Regions from separate parts of the Homo sapiens genome. Here all the other regions are linked to region 1. Evidence: promoter capture Hi-C in 16 types of primary human blood cells and fetal thymus (Javierre and others, 2016). All regions are on one chromosome and are shown on one strand. The core of a region is centred on a gene start or on the middle of the fragment in contact, and the rest is flanking DNA. Distances in the headings are between cores, read along the strand shown.

Region 1 (2,593 bases), core at 40-2,539:
AACATGTTCTTTAAGAAAAGTTTCAGGTATATTACATACATATTTAGCATTATTGTAAAATTATTACATTATTATTGGGTATTTTCAGATAATACGTTTCTGATTGGGTGGTTTGGGGTGGTGGTTGTTTCAAAATTATTTTAAATACCGTAACCTATCTTTTAGTGCTCACGATGAGGGAAACTACGATGTTTATAAAATGGCAGTTTCTTGTTCATCTGAATAAAGACATCTACCAAGGGCAAACTGTAAGAAGCACTGTGGTGTACCTTGGGTTACTTTTTGAATTGCTTTCACACCTGCTTAATTTTATTTGAACAAGATCATAAAACAAAACAAAAATCTCACAGTTCTCAATGCATTCCCTTATCTAGTTGTGATATTACATTCCTTACCATAAACAGTAGCAAACATGTTCTTGTGCAACGTGAAAAAGTAAATGATGTCAGTATTTATTTGCAATACATTGCAGTACACTGAAGTACAGTCAAAACAGAAGGGGGTGTATTAGTAATTTCTCTGACACATTACTTTGGCTCAGATAAAACATTCCGCCTTTGCCTTCAGTAGCCAACTTAGCATTACCGTTTTGATTATATGCAGGCACTTTTTCAAAAAACAGTAAATCAGCATGCTATTTTGTTCGCTGCAGCACTAGGCATCTAATTTACTGAGATTTGGCCACAAGGTGCAATCCTGTTGTTTTCTGGGAGCCCGATTGTAGTAACAGCATGTCCCTTCCAGCCTCTTATTATGGACCCTCCTTGAGGTCAGGAAAGGTCTAAGCTTTACCGCAGTCCCCAGCGTTTGATGCGACCCCGGGATCACGTGGGGAGCTTTAAGAACCCTTCCTAAGAAAGTGACTGATTGATGGCGGGGGAGGGGGTGGGCGCGGGCTTAGTTCCGGGAAAAGGCTGGGGCCCTCGTTGGGAGTGTACAGAAAGATGACTTGAAGAACGTGGGGAGTCGCTCGCAGTTCGGTACGGAGGGGCGGTGGCCGGGGCTGCTGGGTACAAGGGACCGGCAGCGCGCGGAACACCCGCCCCTAATTCCCGCTCCCGTGCGCGCTCCGCCCCCACGCGCGCGCTCCCTCCCGTCAGGCGCGCAGAGAGGCGGGGCGCAGCGCGCACGGAGGTAACAAGGGACGCGGCGGGAAGAGGGCGTGCGCTCCGCCCCGCCCCTTTCGCGGCCTCGCACGCCCCGCCCCCACTCCCTGCGCGTGCTGGGAGCCGGCTGGCAAGGCGTGCGGTGGGCGGGGCGCCGCGCTGACGTTGCCCGGGATGCGGACAGGTTCCGCCGCCTCCAGCGCCGCCGCCGCAGCTGCCGCCGCCGCCGCCTCCGCCTCGCCTGCCACCGGGGTTTGTATGAAAACACCGGGCGGCGGGCGGCGAGGGATCCGCCGTGATCCAGGTGCTGAGCCGGGTGCTGCGGCTCTGCGCGGTCCCCGCCAGCGCCCCATCCTGAGCCGGTGAGCGCCCTGCTGCAGTCCTCATGTCCCGGCCGGCCGTCCCTCTGCTCTCCCCGGGCCGCGGGAGATGCGAGCGACGGCGCCCGGGGGTAGGAGGGGCGACCCCGGATCCCTGCGCCCCTTACCTGACGGGTTGTGTAACGCATGTTACACATGTGACGCGTGAGGGGAACGCACTCGGTCTTGAGGGAAAGCCCTGACGGGGTGGGGCTTTGACTGGGTCTGGAAAACGCCTTCCCCAGTCCCCGGACCCTCGGTGGATCCCCGTCCCAGACCTTGCGGAGGGTATCGGGCGCGGTCTCTGGGCGGAGGCCGCCCTTTCTGCTCAGCCCTTTCTCTCGGGCCCGAGCTCGCGGCGCCGCGGGGAGTCCAGCCGAGGGGCTGCAGGGCCGGGGGCGGGCGCGCCCAGCCCCGCTCTCCCCCGCCCCAGTGGTAGCGGGCCGCTGAATCGCGGGCCCCTGTGCTTCGAGAATTCTAGCGTTCCCGACTGAGCGCCAGCAAGGTGGGATTTGCTGTGACATCGGCGATGGGCACGTTTGCTTCCTCTCGCTGGGTGGTTTGAGCTGAAGTGTGTCTTCTGTTTACAACTTGTCGCCTTGAGCGTTTGGTTTGAACCTGAATCAGATCACCCTGGATGACAGTGCAGAGTTTCCTTAGTGTCTTCCTTCCTGAATTGCGGGTTCTCAATTGCAAGTGTTCAAGGACTGTTGTAACCCAAAGGCTTGCTCGACTCTACCGTTGTTTTACCCCTTGTGCGGTATAAACCTCTTACGAGCACCAGGGCAATTGGAGTTGGTTGGGTTCCTTTCTTGGGCGTTTACTCATTGTAGAATGGAGTTTTCATGCATCATAGTGTAATCGATGTGAATGTTGATAATTTAAAGCCCATTTCCCGTTTTAACATAGCTTACTCAAGTGCCTGAAGATAGCGGAAATTTTCTTTGGCAGTATTAATTCTATGTGGGTTTTTTCCTTCAGGTGTTTAACATTGTAGTTGTGTTTAATTACAATGCATGACAATTTGTAGTTAGAAAGGACCTTAACAGTCTTCTTAATCGGTCATTTTCACTTACCTTTTATGTCCGTTTTTTAAGCTTTATGTAAATCAAATTATCCTTTGTGAAC
Region 2 (2,593 bases), core at 35-2,534, 1.5 Mb after region 1:
GCCTGAAGAAAAATGCTTTTAGGTTTTTCTCTTCTCATCAAAAATAAGCTTTTAGACTTCAATTTTCACCTCCCTGTTCCATCACATGGAGAAACGCTCTTTTGCCTGAAGCCCATTTAAGCAAATAAATATCATGCCAAGGAGTGTCCCTCAAAATAGCAGCATGGCTAAGGGGTGGATCAGTAAGAAATTGTAATAAGCCCCTCATCACTCCAGATATGCAGCTTCAGGCAGAATGGAGTCACACGCCACGAAAACCAGGTATGAACGCTTGCCAGCACCACTGCCCAAGGAAACTGAATTTGAAGCAAAAATCAAGTCACTCAGAAAAACACATAGCCCCAAATCCCAGGCTTACAACTGCTCCTGGCAGGCTGAAACTTCTTGTTGGTAAGCCAACAAGAAGCACGGGCCTCTACTCTAAAGACTATGCTTACGGCTGGGCGCAGTGGCTCACGCCTGTAATCCCAACACCTTGGGAGGCCAAGGCGGGCAGATCACCTGAGGTCGGGAGTTTGAGACCAGCCTGACCAACACGGAGAAACCCCGTCTCTACTAAAAACACAAAATTAGCTGGGCATGGTGGCGTATGCCTGGAATCCCAGCTACTCAGGAGGCTGAGGCAGGAGAATTGCTTGAACCCAGGAGGTGGAGGTTGCAGTGAGCCGAGATCATGCCATTGCACTCCAGCCTGGGCAACAAGAGCAAAACTCTGTCTCAAAAAAGAAAAAAAACCTATGCTTACTAGCCTGGAGCATAGTCTTTAGAGTGGGGGCCCATCCCATGCTTCCTTCCCTAGGAGTTGAAATTATTATAATTACAGTCATAAAATCTCTCAGGACTAATTAGGGCACCATCTTGAGTTGATTGCTCCTACCTGTGGGGTAAGAGGGCTCCCGCACAGGGTTCCTATTTAGTCGGTAAATCGAGGCTCCACACATTCAATCTTACAGAACAATTAGAGATAATAAGGAGAAAATTGTAAAATTGCACACAAGCTTCTGTGATGTTCAATTTGATACTTAATATGCTAAAAGTACAGCTATTATCTATGGAGAGCCCCATGCCGCAGGCTGCCTGTCCTCCTTAATGGGATTCAAGCCTTTACAACTACACTCTGTCTGCTTCTTCCTTTCCACCCATCAGAGAGGGGTCTCTGATTCTCAATTACAGAAGGGCCTGCGGGCACCTGTTCTTGTTATTGCTGAGGTTGTTTGTTTGTTTGTTTGTTTGTTTGTTTTTAATGCTTGTGTCTATTTCTCTGAGGTCAGGAAACAGGTTTAGGGTCTGTCAAGGTGAAGTTGGAAGACAGGAAGCCACAGTGGCTTAGAAATCACCCATCCAGAAGGTTAGGCCACTGCATAGAGTCAGTTGGCCCTTAGAAAAGTGCACCAAGACATCACAGAGTCCAGTCCTAGGCTGGGTGGAGGCCTTCTATGTCTAGCCTCACGAATTTTACAAAATTTATACATGACCACATATGGAAACTGATCTAGAGTTCAAATAACCCAGACGTCGATGGTGTGGGTTCTCAAATTTGAGCATGCATTGGAATCACCCGGAAAGCTTGTGAAAATACAGATTGGTAGCCCCCACCCTTGGAGTTTCTAATTTAGTAAATCGAAATAATTTGCATTTCTAACGAGTTTCCAGGTGACGCTGATGGAGCTGGTCTGAGGTTCACTCTTAGAAACTGTCTGCTTTAAAGAATAAAATTGTGAGTAGATTGGCATGCCTTCCCCTGCCCCCACACAGATTTAAAAAGGAATCTGGTCACCCTTCTTTGTCTCCAGACGGAGTCTCCACTGCTGGTCCGACCATATTTACCTTACATCACCAAGTCTGAACTCCACGCCATCATGACCGCCGGGTTCTCTACCATTGCTGGAAGCGTGCTAGGTGCATACATTTCTTTTGGGGTAAGAATGTTTTGGAATTATGAAAACACCAACCTCTTCTTTCTTTATTATTGTTATTTCTTTTCTTTTCCATTGCTGGTGGAAAAAGGAGGCCAAGAGAGTGTCTTTTTTTGCCATATGGCAAAAGTTGGTCACAGTTGCTTTGGCATTTGAACATAGGGATCCCAAGGAGTTTCAGGGCTTCATATACCTGCTGCCTAAATGTGAGTTCTATCTGCAGAATAAAAACAGAAAAATGCAATCATATGATAAAGTTGCTTTGGTTGAAAATTTAAATCTGTTAAAAAAAAAATTATTACATCAGTCAAGGTGATCTGGACTGGGAGTCAGTAAACTATGGCCCATGGGCCAAATCCCAATTGCTCCTGTTTTTGGAAATGAATTATTGGAAAGCAACTACTTCTATTCATTTGTCTCTGGCAGCTTTCATGCTACAGAGTTGAGTCGTTGTGATCCACAAAGACAACAATATTTATTCTCTGGCCCTTTACAGAAAAACTTTTCTGACCCCTGGTCTAGAGCAGTGATTCTCAAACCTTTCTGCACGTTAGAATCACCTGGGAGCTTTTAAATTCTCTAATGCCCAGGTCCATATCTCAGAGTAATTAAACTACAGTTCCTTGGGATGAGACCCAGCCATCAATATTTTTTAAAACTCTCAGATTCTAATGTAC
Region 3 (2,593 bases), core at 71-2,570, 1.4 Mb after region 1:
TGATAGAAAGGAGAGTGGAAACCTGCCCCTGGTCCCAGCTCTGCCTATTGGAAAGTTATCAGGCCGAGATGAGGGCAATTGTCCTCATTCCTCTCTTCCCCTGGACCACTTTTGTATCAGAACAAAACAAAGCAAAAGTCATATGTTTCTTTTCTTTACTTTCTTTTCTTTTCTTTTTTTTTTTTTTCAGGTAGAGTCTTGCTGTGTCTCCCAGGCTGGAGTGCAGTGGCATGATCTGCCTCTGGGGCTCAAGCAATTCTCCTACCTCAGCCTCCCAAGTAGCTGGGATTATAGGTGCACAACACCACGCCCAGCTAATTTTTATATTTTTAGTAGACACAGGATTTTGCCCAGGCTGGTCTCCCCTCCCACTTCGGCCTCCCATCATGCTGGGATTACAGGTACGAACCACTGTGCCCAGCCGATCATCTGTTTCTTTACAAGCCCAGGATTTGTCAGCTGTTTGTTGAATCGGATGCTTCATCTGAACACCTAATCTTTGTTTGTCTCATCCTCCAAATTCCTCTAGGTATTTTTCATGAAAGAACATCTGTCTTTTGGCTGTAACTTTTTATTTTTTCAATCTGCACTTTTTTCTTAGAATGAAGAAAACTTTCTTGAGAACGAGAACACATCAGGAAACAACTCAATAAGAAGCAGAGCTGTGCAAAGCAGGGAGCACACAAACACCAAACAGGTACAGCAAGACTGTGGTGCATGACTCTAGTACCATGGCAGCCGCTGCGCAACAGGCACCTGAGAACAGTGGGCACAGAAAGCATGGCGCCCCACTGGCACGCAGAGGAACAGATTAAGTGGTAATTAAAGTGTGTGGGGGCATAGTCGTAAAGAAAACACACACGCCCAAACAAAGAGATTTTGTTTTTATCCACCTGTCCTCAGAGTTCCCTGATGGGAAGCATCACTTCACTATTAGGAGTTCCAAGCTCCATCTCAAGGAAAAAGGCATTGGCTTAGACAAAAGCATCTGAGCTTTAACGTAAATGACAGAAACAAGAGGAACCCTCTACTATGGTTCTGAATCTGGGTCCATCATGCACTCGCATTCCTTAGTAGCTTTATACCAGTCCGAGGGACTCTTGCTTAATTTCACTTACATGTTGAATTCTGGACAGGAGTTTATTTAAAGATGGCTTCCTGTTGCCAAAAAGGTGAACAAATTACCCATGTAGGTCACCCCTTAAAAGGTAATTCAGGGCCGGGCACGGTGGCTTATGCCTGTAATCCCAGCACTTTGGGAGGCTGAGGTGGGCGGATCACTTGAGGTCAGGAGTTCAAGACCAGCCTGGCCAACATGGTGAAAACCCATCTCTACTAAAAATACAAAAATTAGCTGGGCGTGGTGGCGTGTGCCTGTAATCCCAGCTACTCTGGAGGCTGAGGCAGGAGAATCACTTGAACCCAGGAGGTAGAGGTTGCAGTGAGCCGAGATGGCACCACTGTACTCCAGCCTGGGCGACAGAGCGAGATTCTCAAAAAAAAAAAAAAAAAAGGAATTTGGGGTGCCCACTAGTGTGTCATTTTGTGAGGAGTTTTCTCGTGGTAAAAGAATCACTTTTTTTTAAAGTAGACAATTTGGAAAACTTATTGTAGCAAAATTTGGAAAACCAAAAAAGGCTTATAATTCAAGAAAAAAAGTCAGTGCCTAACATTTTGGAACACAGCCTTTTTTAATGCAAACATACACCCACATGCATATGTCATCTGTATTGGAATCATACCATGCATAGTACAGTGTTTGGTAACTGTCTATTTTGCTTAATTGATTGTAAAAAATGTTCACTAAGTATTCTTCAACAAACAAAAAAGAAAACAATACTTATGTCCACATAAAAACCTACACATGGATGTTTAGAGCAGCTTTATTTGTAATTGCCAACACTTGGAAGTAACCAAAATGTCCTTCAGTAGGTGAATGAATAAATAAACTGTGGTACATTCAGACATGCAGTGTCTTTCAGCGCTAAAAAGAAATGAACTATCAAGCCATGAAAAGACATGAAGGAGCCTTAAATGTACATTACTGGGTAAAAGAAGCCAATCTAAAATGGCTACCTATTGTGCGATCCCAACTATACGACATTCTGGAAAATGCAAAACTATGGAGACAGTAAATAGTGCTTTCAAGGCATCAGGGGGTGGTAGGGACAAATAAGAAGTGTGGGGTTTTTTGTTTTTTTGAGATGGAATCTCGCTCTGTCAGCAGGCTGGAGTGCAGTGGCACAATCTCAGCTCACTGCAGTCTCCACCTCCCGGGTTCAGGTGATTCTCCTGCCTCAGCCTCCCGTGTAGTTGGGATTACCGGCACCCGTCACTGTGCCCAGCTAATTTTTTTTTTTGTATTTTTAGTAGAGACGGGGTTTCACCATGTTGGCCAGGATGGTCTTGATCTCCTGACCTTGTGATCCGCCTGCCTTGGCCTCCCAAAGTGCTGGGATTACAGGCATGAGTGACCACGCCTGGCCATAAGAAGATTTTTAGGGCCATGAAACTAGTATGCCTGATACTACAATGGTGGATACATGCCATCATACATGCGTCCAAACCCATAGAATGTACAAGACCAAGAGAG
Region 4 (2,593 bases), core at 63-2,562, 1.4 Mb after region 1:
CCACTCAGTGATCATCAACATTGCTTTAAAAAAGAACCTTTTCCCCACTCCACAGATATTTTGCCACGTGTCCATATTTGGGAGAGGCTTTTTGGAACAGGGCAACTGAAAGATTTTTCCAAACTCAGAGGAGATGGGGAAGAATCCAAAGAGATGGAAGTTAACAGCAACAGAGGTCAAAACAGTTCAGAATTTCTAAGAGGAAAATGCAGGAATGTTTTTTAACACATTTATTAAAAGGCATCTCTTGGAATCCCAACTCAAGTTTCCTCCTCCCTGTGAATAAGCAATCAATCTTACCACAGCTGCTCTCAGAGGCACAGAACCCAAGCTTGCTCTGAAGTTAGTTGGGTGGAACTCACTTACGAAAGTCTTGGGAGAGGACTAGGCTGGGGAAATGGGCCTCACTCTGCACAAACACACAGGAAAGGCTGAGTTACTCCATGAGTAAGCCAGTCAAGCAGGTTTGGAGAGTTTGTTAAATGGAGTTTACAATTTGGGAGATCATGTAAGTGTAAGTCCATCAGGGATCCAAACCTGCTGGAGTACAGGTGTAGACTTCTTGTCAAGCACGTACTTTGAATACAAAAGTTCTAAGGTAGGAAGTAACTATGTTATGTAGGGAAGAAGAATATTGTTTCTCCTTAACCCACTAGCCTGGGAAGTCAATATGAATCACATTGAGTACTCTTTCACATTGCTCAAGAGGCGCTCGGCTGGAGCTTCCTATATTCAATTAAAACACACACACACAAAAACACATGACAATAATTCGCTTTTGGGAAGGAGGTTAAAAAAGAAAAGTATATTCTCTACTCTTTCCTCAAGTTTGCATGATCACACCTAGACTTATTTTTAGGGGAAAACAGTGTAGGGGATTGTAAACCAAGTCACTTCCATGGCATCTCAGAGAGAGAGGGTATAAGGATTTAGTTTTTCCTCATTCAAACACTCCTGAAGTGATTCCCCTTGAAATTGAGGAGCCACTTACTCATCAGTGTTGAGGCACTGGAAAGAAAATAGAAAATAATTAATAATGTAGATAAAGATACATTTTTGCTGAGGGCTAAAGCAGAACTTTCTAATATGTAACACTAGCCAGATATGTAATTTAAAACTTTTCTGCAAGCCCATTAAAAATGCAAAATAAAGTAGGTATAACTCTTCACCTTATTTTAACTATATTTTATGGAACCTCATATATTGAAATTAATGAAATAATTTATATTTGTTTCATACCAAGTCTTTGAACATCCAGTGCATATTTTAAACATATAGTACATGTCAACTCTAATGCTACATTTTTATCAGAAATACTTGATCTGTTTTTAGATTTCATAAAATGTATATTTGTAAAAAGTAGATTCATAATCAAGTTGTTCTAAACATGCCTGTTTTTCAATACATGGATCTAATGTTCAGTTTTTAATTTAAATTTAAATTAGTTAAAATTAAATTCAGGTCCTTAGTCATATTAGTCACATTTCAAGCACTCAGTAACCACTTGCCACTGATGGTTATTCTATTGGATCACCCACGTAAGCATGTGTTTTTGGTTTTAGAGTTCATACACACACACAGATCTGGTTATCCTTCCTCTTTAAGGACCTGACCACCAGATTTATGCCAAAAAATTAAAGTAACAACTTTACATTTATTTCTGTAATATCAGTAGTAATATCTCCTCTTTCATTCATGAATTTAGTTATTTGTCTTCTCTCTTTTTTTTCCTTGGTTTCTTTTTTCCTTGACATTTCCTTGTTGGGAGGTTTATGGTTAGCAATTCAATCTCTTCACTTGCTATTAGTTTTTTTGAGCTTTTTTTTTCCCTTAAGTAAGTTAAGAACCAACTTTTGGTTTCATTGATTCTCTCTTTTGTTTTTCTAGTCTATATTTCATTTGTCTCCACGATAATCTTCATTATTTCTTTCTTTCTGCTAACTTTGGATTTAGTTTGTTGTTCTTTTTCTAGTTCATTACAGTAGAAGATTGGATTATTGATTTGAGATCTTACTTCTTGATAATATAAGCAATTACAATTATAAAATTCCCTGTAAGCACTGCTTTAGCGATATTCATAAATTTTCGTATATTTTCATTTTTGTTATTTATTTATTTATTTGTGATGAGGGCCATGCTATGTTGCCTAGGCTGGCCTCAAACTCCTGGGTACAAGCAATCCACCCACCCCAGCCTTCCAAGTAGCTGGGACTACAGGCATGCATCACTGTGCTCAGCTTTATTTTTCTTTCTTCTTCTTTTTTTCATGAGACAGAGTCTCACTCTAAGCTTTATTTTTATTAATTCTCTTTTTTTTATAAGACAGAGTCTCACTCTGTCACCCAGGCTGCATTTTAATTATTATCAAACTATTTTCTAACTTCCCTAATGATTTCTTCTTTAATCCATTGGTTATTTAGGAGTGTGCTTAATTTCCTCATAATTTATAAGTTTTCCCCAAATTGTGGTTGGGGAAGACACATTATCTTTCAATATTTTTAAATTTATTGAGATTTGTTTGGGCCTAACATGTGATCTAGCCTGGAGAATGTTCTACATGCACTTGAGAAGAATGTGTATTCTACTTTTGTTG
Region 5 (2,593 bases), core at 46-2,545, 1.4 Mb after region 1:
GAGCCACCTTGCCCGGCCTCATTTAGGTAAATTTAAGAAAAATAGGATTGGTGTATTGTCTACTGAGAATGGGAACCATCACATTTTATCTTAGCTGGATGGAGCCCCAGGGATTTAGCAGATAGTCACACTGAACAATACCTTCCTGCCCAGGTGTGCGTCACCTTTCTCCCCATAGGCCACAGATTTGAGGCCCTGCCCACTTTTCTTTCAGGTTCATGAGGAAGCCCAGTTTCGGAGCCCTTAACTGACCTCCTCAGGCCTTGAGGATGGGTTAATGATGGGAGGAGGGCCTGAAACTTTGGTCCTGATGCCTTGATGGGTCTCAAATTATCCCATGCTGTAAGTCTAGAATCCCATGGGCTGAACTGGGTGGAAGGGGGAGGTGAGCTATATAGCTATCTATGGCTATTACGACAATAGTTTGCACTTATTCAAGAAATAATAGGTGCTGGGTGCAGTGGCTCATGCCTATAATCCTAGCACTTTGGGAGGCTGAGGCAGTCGGATTGCTTGAGCCCAAGAGTTTGAGACCAGCCTGGACAATATGGTGAAACCCCCATCTCTGCAATTTTTTTAAAAAAAATTAGCTGGGTGTGGTGGGGTGCACCCGTAGTCCCAGCTACTTGGGAGGCTGAGGTGGAAGGATCACCTGAGACCAGGGAGGTCAAGGCTGCAGTGAGCCATGATTGTACCACTGCAATCCAGCCTGGGTGACAGAGTAAGAACCTTTCTAAAATAAAATAAAATAAAATAAGAAAAGGAAGAATAGGGCACTTACAATGATAATAGCTAATGTATTGAGTATTGAGTGTTTTAAGTACCCAGCCCCATTCCAACAATTGCACAAGTATTCTCGTTAGATCCTCACAAAACCCTAAGAGGCTCTGAGAGTCTGCATAAACTGCTCAAGTTCCCAATCTAGAAATAGGGGAATTAGGATTAGAACCAGGCAGTCTGACTTCAGAGCTCTTACAAAAAAAAAGAAATCAAAATATATATAGACCAAACCGAAAATGACAATATGTACTTTTTATCACCCCACATCAGAAGTTCATGATATCTGGTGGACCCATGTATAGTAAATTGTTGATTTGGATTAGTATTGGCCTGACGTGTTTTTTTCCCCCAAGACATGGTCTCACCCCATCACCCAGGCTGTACTATAGTAGCACGATCATAGCTCATTGTAATCTTGAACTCCTGGGCTCAAGCAGACCTCCCACCCCAGCCTCCCAGTTAGCTGGGACTACAGGCATGCACCACTGTGCCTGGCTATTTCTTTTTTCAGAGGCAGGGGTATCACTATGTTGCCCAGGCTGATCTCCAACTCCTGGCCTCAGGAGATCCTCCTGCCTCAGCCCTGACATCTTTATTATGCGTTTTACTGTTTCCCCTGTGGCAATATGTCATCTGCACACTGTGAATTTGGCTCCATACGACGTCCAGCACCCCATAAGCTACCCAACCAGTGATTTAATTCCAATTGATTATCCCTGCTCAAAGGATCACAAAATCATGCTTTTCAAATTCTATCATTTTTATATTTGTTGCTGGCATTGATATATAAGGTATAGCTTCTTCTTAACAACTGGGGCTATTTAGTTACCCTGAATGCAATTCCTTATGAACAATATAAATGCTTATTTTCTCCCTTTTTAGGTTTTTTTCAGAGTTTCCTTTTTTCTTTCTTTCTTTTTTTTTTCTTTTTTTCTCTTTTTGAGACAGGGTTTCACTCTATTGCCCAGGCTGGTGTGCAGTGGCACGATCTAGACTCACTGCAACCTCTGCCTCCTGGGCTCAAGCGATCCTCCCACCTCAGCCTTTCGAGTAGCTGGGATTACAGGCACACGCCACCATACCAGCTAATTTTTGTATTTTTAGTAGAGACAGGGTTTCGCCATGTTGCCCAGGCTGGTTTCTAACTGCTGGGCTCAAGCCATCTGCCTGCCGCAGCCTCCTAAAGTGCCGGGATTACTGGCGTGAGCCACTGTGCCCGGCCTAGAGTTTCCGTTTTTAAGTATCATTATAGACTCATGAATTTTTGAAGGTTTTATGTGTTTCAATCGATTATAAACATTGTTCTTTCCCAGGCCACTCCTATATCCTTTGGCTATAAACTTAGGTAGGTTTAAAAACTTCATTGTTTCTAGCACAAGAAGTCCTAGGTGTAACCTGTGGGGTTCCTTTCAGGGGGGATGGTATTTACCAGCCAGGCTTTCAGAGCTCTTAGATACCTACCCTCTGCATTGCCTCCATGCACAGCCCTATGCCCCATGCAGGAGAGCCCATGGTTCACAAAACAGTGTCCTCTATGAGGGTTGGCCTGGCAACAGGACAGTGTGGCCTGGGACAGCCTCGCTGAGGAGCTAAGATCTGAGCAAAGAGAAAGAGCCAGTCCAGGGGCCAGTCCAAATTCAAGTGAAAATGTCCTGTGGCCAGAACAGATCTGGAGGACTTGGAAGATTTGTGAGCAAAGAAGAAAGAGAACAAGATGAGGTGAGAGCCAGGCATTGAGCCACATTCCTATACTAACAAAGAACAGTGACACCAATATCTCAGTATGTACAGCTATCATAAGAGGAAGCCGATA
Region 6 (2,593 bases), core at 42-2,541, 1.4 Mb after region 1:
TGTAGAAAATCTGAAAGGATCAACCAAAAAAAATCCTAGAACTAATAAGCAATCATAGCAAAGTTATAGGATACAAGGTTAATATACAAGAAGTTAATCACTTTTCTGTATACCAGTGATACAGTTTGGAAGTTTTTTCCCTTCCAAATCTCGTGTTCAGCCAGGTACAGTGGTTCATTCCTATAATCCCAGTTCTTTGGGAGGCTGAGGCAGGAGGATCACTTCAGCCCAGCAATTGAGCTCCTTCGTATTTATCCAGAAGAGCTGAAAATGTATATCTACACCAAAACCTGCACACAGATGTTTATAGTAGCTCTATCAATAATTGCCCAAACTTAGAAGCAACCAAGATGTCTTTCAGTAGGTGATGGATAAAATGTGGTACATTCAGACAATGAAATATTATTTAGCACTAAGAAGAAATGAGCTATCAAGCCATGAAAAGACATTAACCTCCTTAATGTGCATTTTGGCTTCTTAATTGCACATTACTAAGTGAAAGAAACCAATCTGAAAAGCCTACATGTTATTTGATTCCAATTATATGACATTCTGGACAAGGCAACACTGTGGAGATATTACAGTCCATAGATTGTAACAAGTGTACCACCCTGGTGGGGGATGTTGATAATGAGGGAGGCTGAGCATGTGTTGGGGCAGAAAGTATATGGGTAATCTCTACTTTCCACTCAAGTTTTCTGAGAACCTAAAACTGCCTTAAAAAATAAAGTCAGGCTGGGTACGGTGGGTCATGCTTATAATCTCAACATTTTGGGAGGCCAAGGTGGGTGTATGACTTGAGCTCAGGAGTTTGAAACCAGCCTGGGCAGCATAGTGAAACTTCATCTCTCCAAACAATACAAAAATTAGCCGGGCATGGTGTCACACTCCTGTAGTTCCAGCTACTCTGGAGGCTGAGGTGGGAGGACTGCTTGAGCCCAAGAGTTGGAGGTTGCAGTGAGTTAAGATGGCGCTACTGTACTCCAGCCTGGGTGACAGAGTGAGACTCTGACTCAAAAAATAAGTAAGTAAAGTCAAGAAATTAAAAAAAAAAGAAAGAAGGGAGGGAGGGAGAGAGAAAATTAACTCAGGTGCCTCCCCAGGATATTGAGATATCATTGCCCTGGGGGGCCTTCTCGCCCCCAACAAGGACCCTCTTGCACCCATGTTTGGGAACCACTGGCTTATGTGAACAGACCCCTGTCATTTATTATCTCTGTGACCCTATGATGTTGGGAAAATTCCTTCACTCTGGCCTCAGTTGTATTACCCACAAAACAAGGGTAATCGCTTCTTCATGGAATTCTAGGAGGGATTAAATGAGGATTCAAGGTATGTAAAGTACTCAACATTGTAATTCCTTTTCCTATCCCTAAGGAATAAGGTTTTGGTCTAAGGGCATTTAGGGACTCACCTAAGATTTTTAATGAAGAAAATGATGTGACTTGCTTTATCTAGAAAAATCATTGATTAGAAAAGTAATTTCATCAGCTATATGGAGATCGATGGAGGGAGGATAAGAGAGCCAGCTTGAGGCCCTGGGAAGAGTTCGTTGACAGCTTCTTGCAGTAGTCAAATGAGAGATAGTAAGACCTGAGGTAGTGGAATGGAAAAAGAAGGGACACATACATTTGAGAAAAACTTAAGAGGTAGATGGGACAAGTTTGGTGACTCAGAGTCAGCCTTGATTCTTGTCTCTCCTTCACAGCCCACATCTGCTCTGATAGCAGGTCTTATCTCCCCTACCACGACACAACCAGTTCTGCACTGCTCAGCCCCGGGCTCTCAGACTGTTATGATTAGCATCTAATGTTCTTCTTGCTTTCAACCCTAATCCATTCTCTACAGAGCAGCCAAAATGTTATTTAGAAATGTAAATAAAATCACATCCACTCCCCATCTCAAAATCCTCACATTGAATAAAATCAAATTCTTTAATCTGGCTTTCAGGACTTGGCTCTGATTTCCTCTCCCACCTCATTGCCAATGTTCCCCCACTTCTGTGCTCCAGCCTTTCTGTTTTTCACCAGCTAAGCTCAGGCCCACCCAAGAATGCCTGGAACTACCACTTTTCTATGCTGAGAATTCTTTCCCTGCCCTCCCATCAACCAAGCCCCTCCCTGGCCTCATCCCTTCCCCATGTCCCAAATATAGTGCTCCCCCCATAATTGCCAGCAACAGTGGTTCAACATCAGTGCAAAATAGTTGTCCATTATCTTAAGAAATTGAACACTCATGTCAATATCAGGCTTAATTGTATACCCCAAGAATTATTGCACATGTGCACAAAAAACATATTCAAGAATGTTCTTAGCATTGTTCATGATAAAAAGAACTGGAACAATTCAAATGTTCATCAGTGGAAGTTTGGATAAGTAAATGGTAGCATTGATACAATGGAATACTATACAGCAATAAAAATAAATAAACCGGCAGGGCACAGTGGCTCACACCTGTAATCCCAGCACTTTGGGAGGCCGAGGCGGGAGGATCGCCTGAGGTCAGGAATTCGAAACCAGCCTGGCCAACATGGTGAAACCCTATCTGTACTAAAAATACAAAAATTAGCTGGGCATGGTGACTGTAATCCCAG
Region 7 (2,593 bases), core at 31-2,530, 1.3 Mb after region 1:
TTTTTTTTTTTTTGAGACAGAGTCTCGCTCTTGTTGCCCAGGCTGGAGTGCAATGGCATGATCTCGGCTCACTGCAACATCCGCCTCCCAGGTTCAAGCAATTCTCCTGCCTCAGCCTCCTGAGTAGCTGGGATTACAGGCATGCACCACCACACCCAGCAAATTTTGTATTTTTAGTAGAGATGGGGTTTCTCCATGTTGGTCAGGCTGGTCTCAAACTCCCAACCTCAGGTGATCCGCCCACCTCAGCCTCCCAAAGTGCTGGGATTACAGGCGTGAGCCACCGCGCCTGGACTTAGATTTCTTACCGTCATAATTTTGCAAGAGCAATTTCAATACCAAATGTACAGTAGTCCTGATCCTGTCAAAGGACTCCAGTACTGAGGAAAGGGTGAGCTGAATAATCTCCAAGGCCCCTCTAACTCAGAACCTGTGAGGATCTCAACTTCACTTTTCTGCAGGGCTCTGTGTGTGTTTCAGGCTAAAAAGTTGTGCTATGTTTTAAATGTCCAACCCCTTCAATGGATCTTTGCAAATGCATGTATTGGGAGACATTAGGAGATAACCTCAGAAGCCTAGACCTCAAATCAAATGTCAAAAGACATTTTTGAGCTAATTCTGGAGGAATTTGAGTATGGGTCAGAATTATATGATATTGAGAAGTTATTATTTATTTTCTCTTTTAAAAAACAATTTTAATATTTTTAAAAATATCTTTATTGAGATGGGGTTTTACTATGTTGCCCAGGCTGGTCTTGAACTCCTGGGCTTAAGAAATCCTCCAGCCTCAGCCTCCCAAAATCCTGGGATTGCAGGTATGAGCCACCATGCCCGGCCTGAGAAGTCATTATTAACATGTAATAAAGGCACAGAAGAAATGCCCCATGTAGGCGGAAATGACTAGAAACCTGGATATTTGCCTTTTTCAAGCAAAAATTTCAGCAAAGACAAACACAAAAAATGAAAGTATGATAATTTTTCTATAGCAAAATCTTCTTTTCTCCCCCTTGGCATGTGAATAAGAGCTATGTGGCAAAATCTTGATAATTGTTGAATCTAAGTAGTGGATAAATAAGGATTCATTATACTATTCTCTTTACTTTTGTATATATTTACATTTTTCAATAATAAGAAGAGTTTCGAGTTTACATCTGTGTCCACCCCCCATGGTTATGACATTAGGGTCAAAAGCACCTTCGGAGCCCTCACCCTCACTCCGCATGGGTGGTAAAGGCTGGACTGGAAGGACGGGCCTTACCGGGCACAGCATCTGCTTCCTGGCCCGGGAAGAGCCAGCAACATCTTGAGGAAATAAATGCATACAAAGATCAACAGCTTGAAGGGGTGGATTTCAGGGCCCGTGTGCTTCACAGTGAGTCATCACTTCCACAGTCACAATTTCTCACTTAGAAGGAATCCAAAAAAGCACCCCTAACCATTGGATTCCAAACTTCATTGGGTTCTTCTGGGGTTTATTAAACCCACAGATTCCGGGGCTCCCAACTAGACCCATAGAATAGACTGAGCAGTGGCGGGGCCCCGGAATCTGTGTTAATTTATTTCTCTGGTGATTCTGGGACAGCCCTGAACTGGGGGCCTGGGAGCCTCTGAAGTGGATCAACGTCCCAATCCCACAAAGGAGAACGTGGCCCAGAAGGGCTTTGTAACCGGCCGAAGGTGACATCCCTGCGGCTTCCTCCCTCACTTTTCACAGCCATGCCCTCCCTGAGAGACCCCTCAGAAAGAGTGGGCCCCTGGAAACGCGCCAGCACAGGAAAGAAGACAGCCAAACACTCTCCATGAATGCACGCCCCGTCCTTGGCCTGGGGGACTCGCAGCACCCCTGAGCACCCGTGCCTGGCAGATGCAGCCACGCTCCTTGCCTTCAGGTCCCTCACACGGTGTCAGGCCTAAAGCAGCCCAGCTTCTGCCTCTGATCCGGCCTCTGTGATATTGACCCCTGTCTCCTGCTAAGCAGCTCTTAGATGGGAGATGTTCTAATGGGAAAGAAGACAGGGAGGAGCCAGAGGATATCTGTTACAGCCATTACTTTCCACTCAGGATCCTATTTTGCATCTTCACTCGAGGCCTATAAATTGAACCTTGAGGGCGGGTCCCAGAAATCCGCAGCTAGAAGTTCATAAAACCAGGTCGGGTTGCCTTGGGCCAATTAAAGTGAAACACTGCCACCAAGTGGCCATTCTAGGTCATCACAGGCTGCCAGCTCCTTCCAGAGCACCTGCCTCTCTGCCAGAGACAAACAGCATGACAGAGCAGGTGGGCATGCCCTTCCCTTCTTTTTCTTAAAATTATTTTACTTATATTAATAGAAATACATTCACATGGTATAAAACGCATAAGGTCCAAAGTGGTCCTGGTGGTTGCCTCCAGAGCTAATGTAGATCCAGCTGAATGCCTCGTTAGGGGTCTCCATTAGGTCTTTAACCCTGTTATGCCTGCCATCTCACCAGTATCGTCTGTTGCTCCTTGTCCATAGGGGTTCTGTTCCCAAGTGCCCAGTGCTAACCTGCCTCTTGGAGTTTACTACAAATCTGGGTTGATTCAGCAACACCAAAGACCTGAGGCTAAATAA

What was found. Contacts are between HindIII fragments. The CHiCAGO score rates a contact against its expected background, and 5 or more counts as called.
Region 2: a contact is called between a fragment that was not itself captured here and the fragment with the promoter of AGTPBP1 in region 1, in 2 of 17 cell types (total B cells and M0 macrophages). The highest score is 6.6, in total B cells.
Region 3: a fragment that was not itself captured here is called in contact with the fragment with the promoter of AGTPBP1 in region 1 in 2 of 17 cell types (M0 macrophages and M1 macrophages); the score reaches 9.9 in M0 macrophages.
Region 4: a fragment that was not itself captured here is called in contact with the fragment with the promoter of AGTPBP1 in region 1 in 3 of 17 cell types (M0 macrophages, M1 macrophages and M2 macrophages); the score reaches 13.9 in M0 macrophages.
Region 5: a contact is called between a fragment that was not itself captured here and the fragment with the promoter of AGTPBP1 in region 1, in 2 of 17 cell types (M0 macrophages and M2 macrophages). The highest score is 9.7, in M0 macrophages.
Region 6: a fragment that was not itself captured here is called in contact with the fragment with the promoter of AGTPBP1 in region 1 in 2 of 17 cell types (M0 macrophages and M1 macrophages); the score reaches 18.9 in M0 macrophages.
Region 7: a contact is called between a fragment that was not itself captured here and the fragment with the promoter of AGTPBP1 in region 1, in 3 of 17 cell types (M1 macrophages, M2 macrophages and M0 macrophages). The highest score is 16.3, in M1 macrophages.

Annotation. Positions count from the first base shown.
Region 1 is chr9:85,740,650-85,743,242 of GRCh38, reverse strand. AGTPBP1 (ATP/GTP binding carboxypeptidase 1) reads left to right here and starts at 1,289. Exons shown (of 26, transcript NM_001330701.2): 1 at 1,289-1,468. RefSeq lists silencers at 966-1,565, 1,636-1,955 and an enhancer at 2,126-2,275. The HindIII fragment of the contact is 1,776 bases long and covers 789-2,564 here.
Region 2 is chr9:84,289,480-84,292,072 of GRCh38, reverse strand. SLC28A3 (solute carrier family 28 member 3) reads left to right here. Exons shown (of 18, transcript NM_001199633.2): 11 at 1,794-1,919. It overlaps SLC28A3-AS1 (SLC28A3 regulatory antisense RNA 1), which reads right to left. Exons shown (of 2, transcript XR_001746802.1): 2 at 1,937-2,133. Among named protein-coding and RNA genes, the nearest start is that of SLC28A3-AS1, 13 kb to the right of the region's middle. The HindIII fragment of the contact is 568 bases long and covers 1,001-1,568 here.
Region 3 is chr9:84,311,463-84,314,055 of GRCh38, reverse strand. SLC28A3 (solute carrier family 28 member 3) reads left to right here. Exons shown (of 18, transcript NM_001199633.2): 2 at 602-697. Among named protein-coding and RNA genes, the nearest start is that of SLC28A3, 28 kb to the left of the region's middle. The HindIII fragment of the contact is 7,197 bases long and covers 1-2,593 here.
Region 4 is chr9:84,329,398-84,331,990 of GRCh38, reverse strand. The region is part of intron 1 of SLC28A3 (solute carrier family 28 member 3); the gene reads left to right. Among named protein-coding and RNA genes, the nearest start is that of SLC28A3, 10 kb to the left of the region's middle. The HindIII fragment of the contact is 1,958 bases long and covers 334-2,291 here.
Region 5 is chr9:84,353,975-84,356,567 of GRCh38, reverse strand. It overlaps a transcript of SLC28A3 not described here. Among named protein-coding and RNA genes, the nearest start is that of SLC28A3, 15 kb to the right of the region's middle. RefSeq lists an enhancer at 1-518. The HindIII fragment of the contact is 3,937 bases long and covers 1-2,593 here.
Region 6 is chr9:84,375,285-84,377,877 of GRCh38, reverse strand. No RefSeq gene overlaps it. Among named protein-coding and RNA genes, the nearest start is that of SLC28A3, 36 kb to the right of the region's middle. RefSeq lists an enhancer at 947-1,447. The HindIII fragment of the contact is 2,913 bases long and covers 1-2,593 here.
Region 7 is chr9:84,396,853-84,399,445 of GRCh38, reverse strand. No RefSeq gene overlaps it. Among named protein-coding and RNA genes, the nearest start is that of SLC28A3, 57 kb to the right of the region's middle. The HindIII fragment of the contact is 7,909 bases long and covers 1-2,593 here.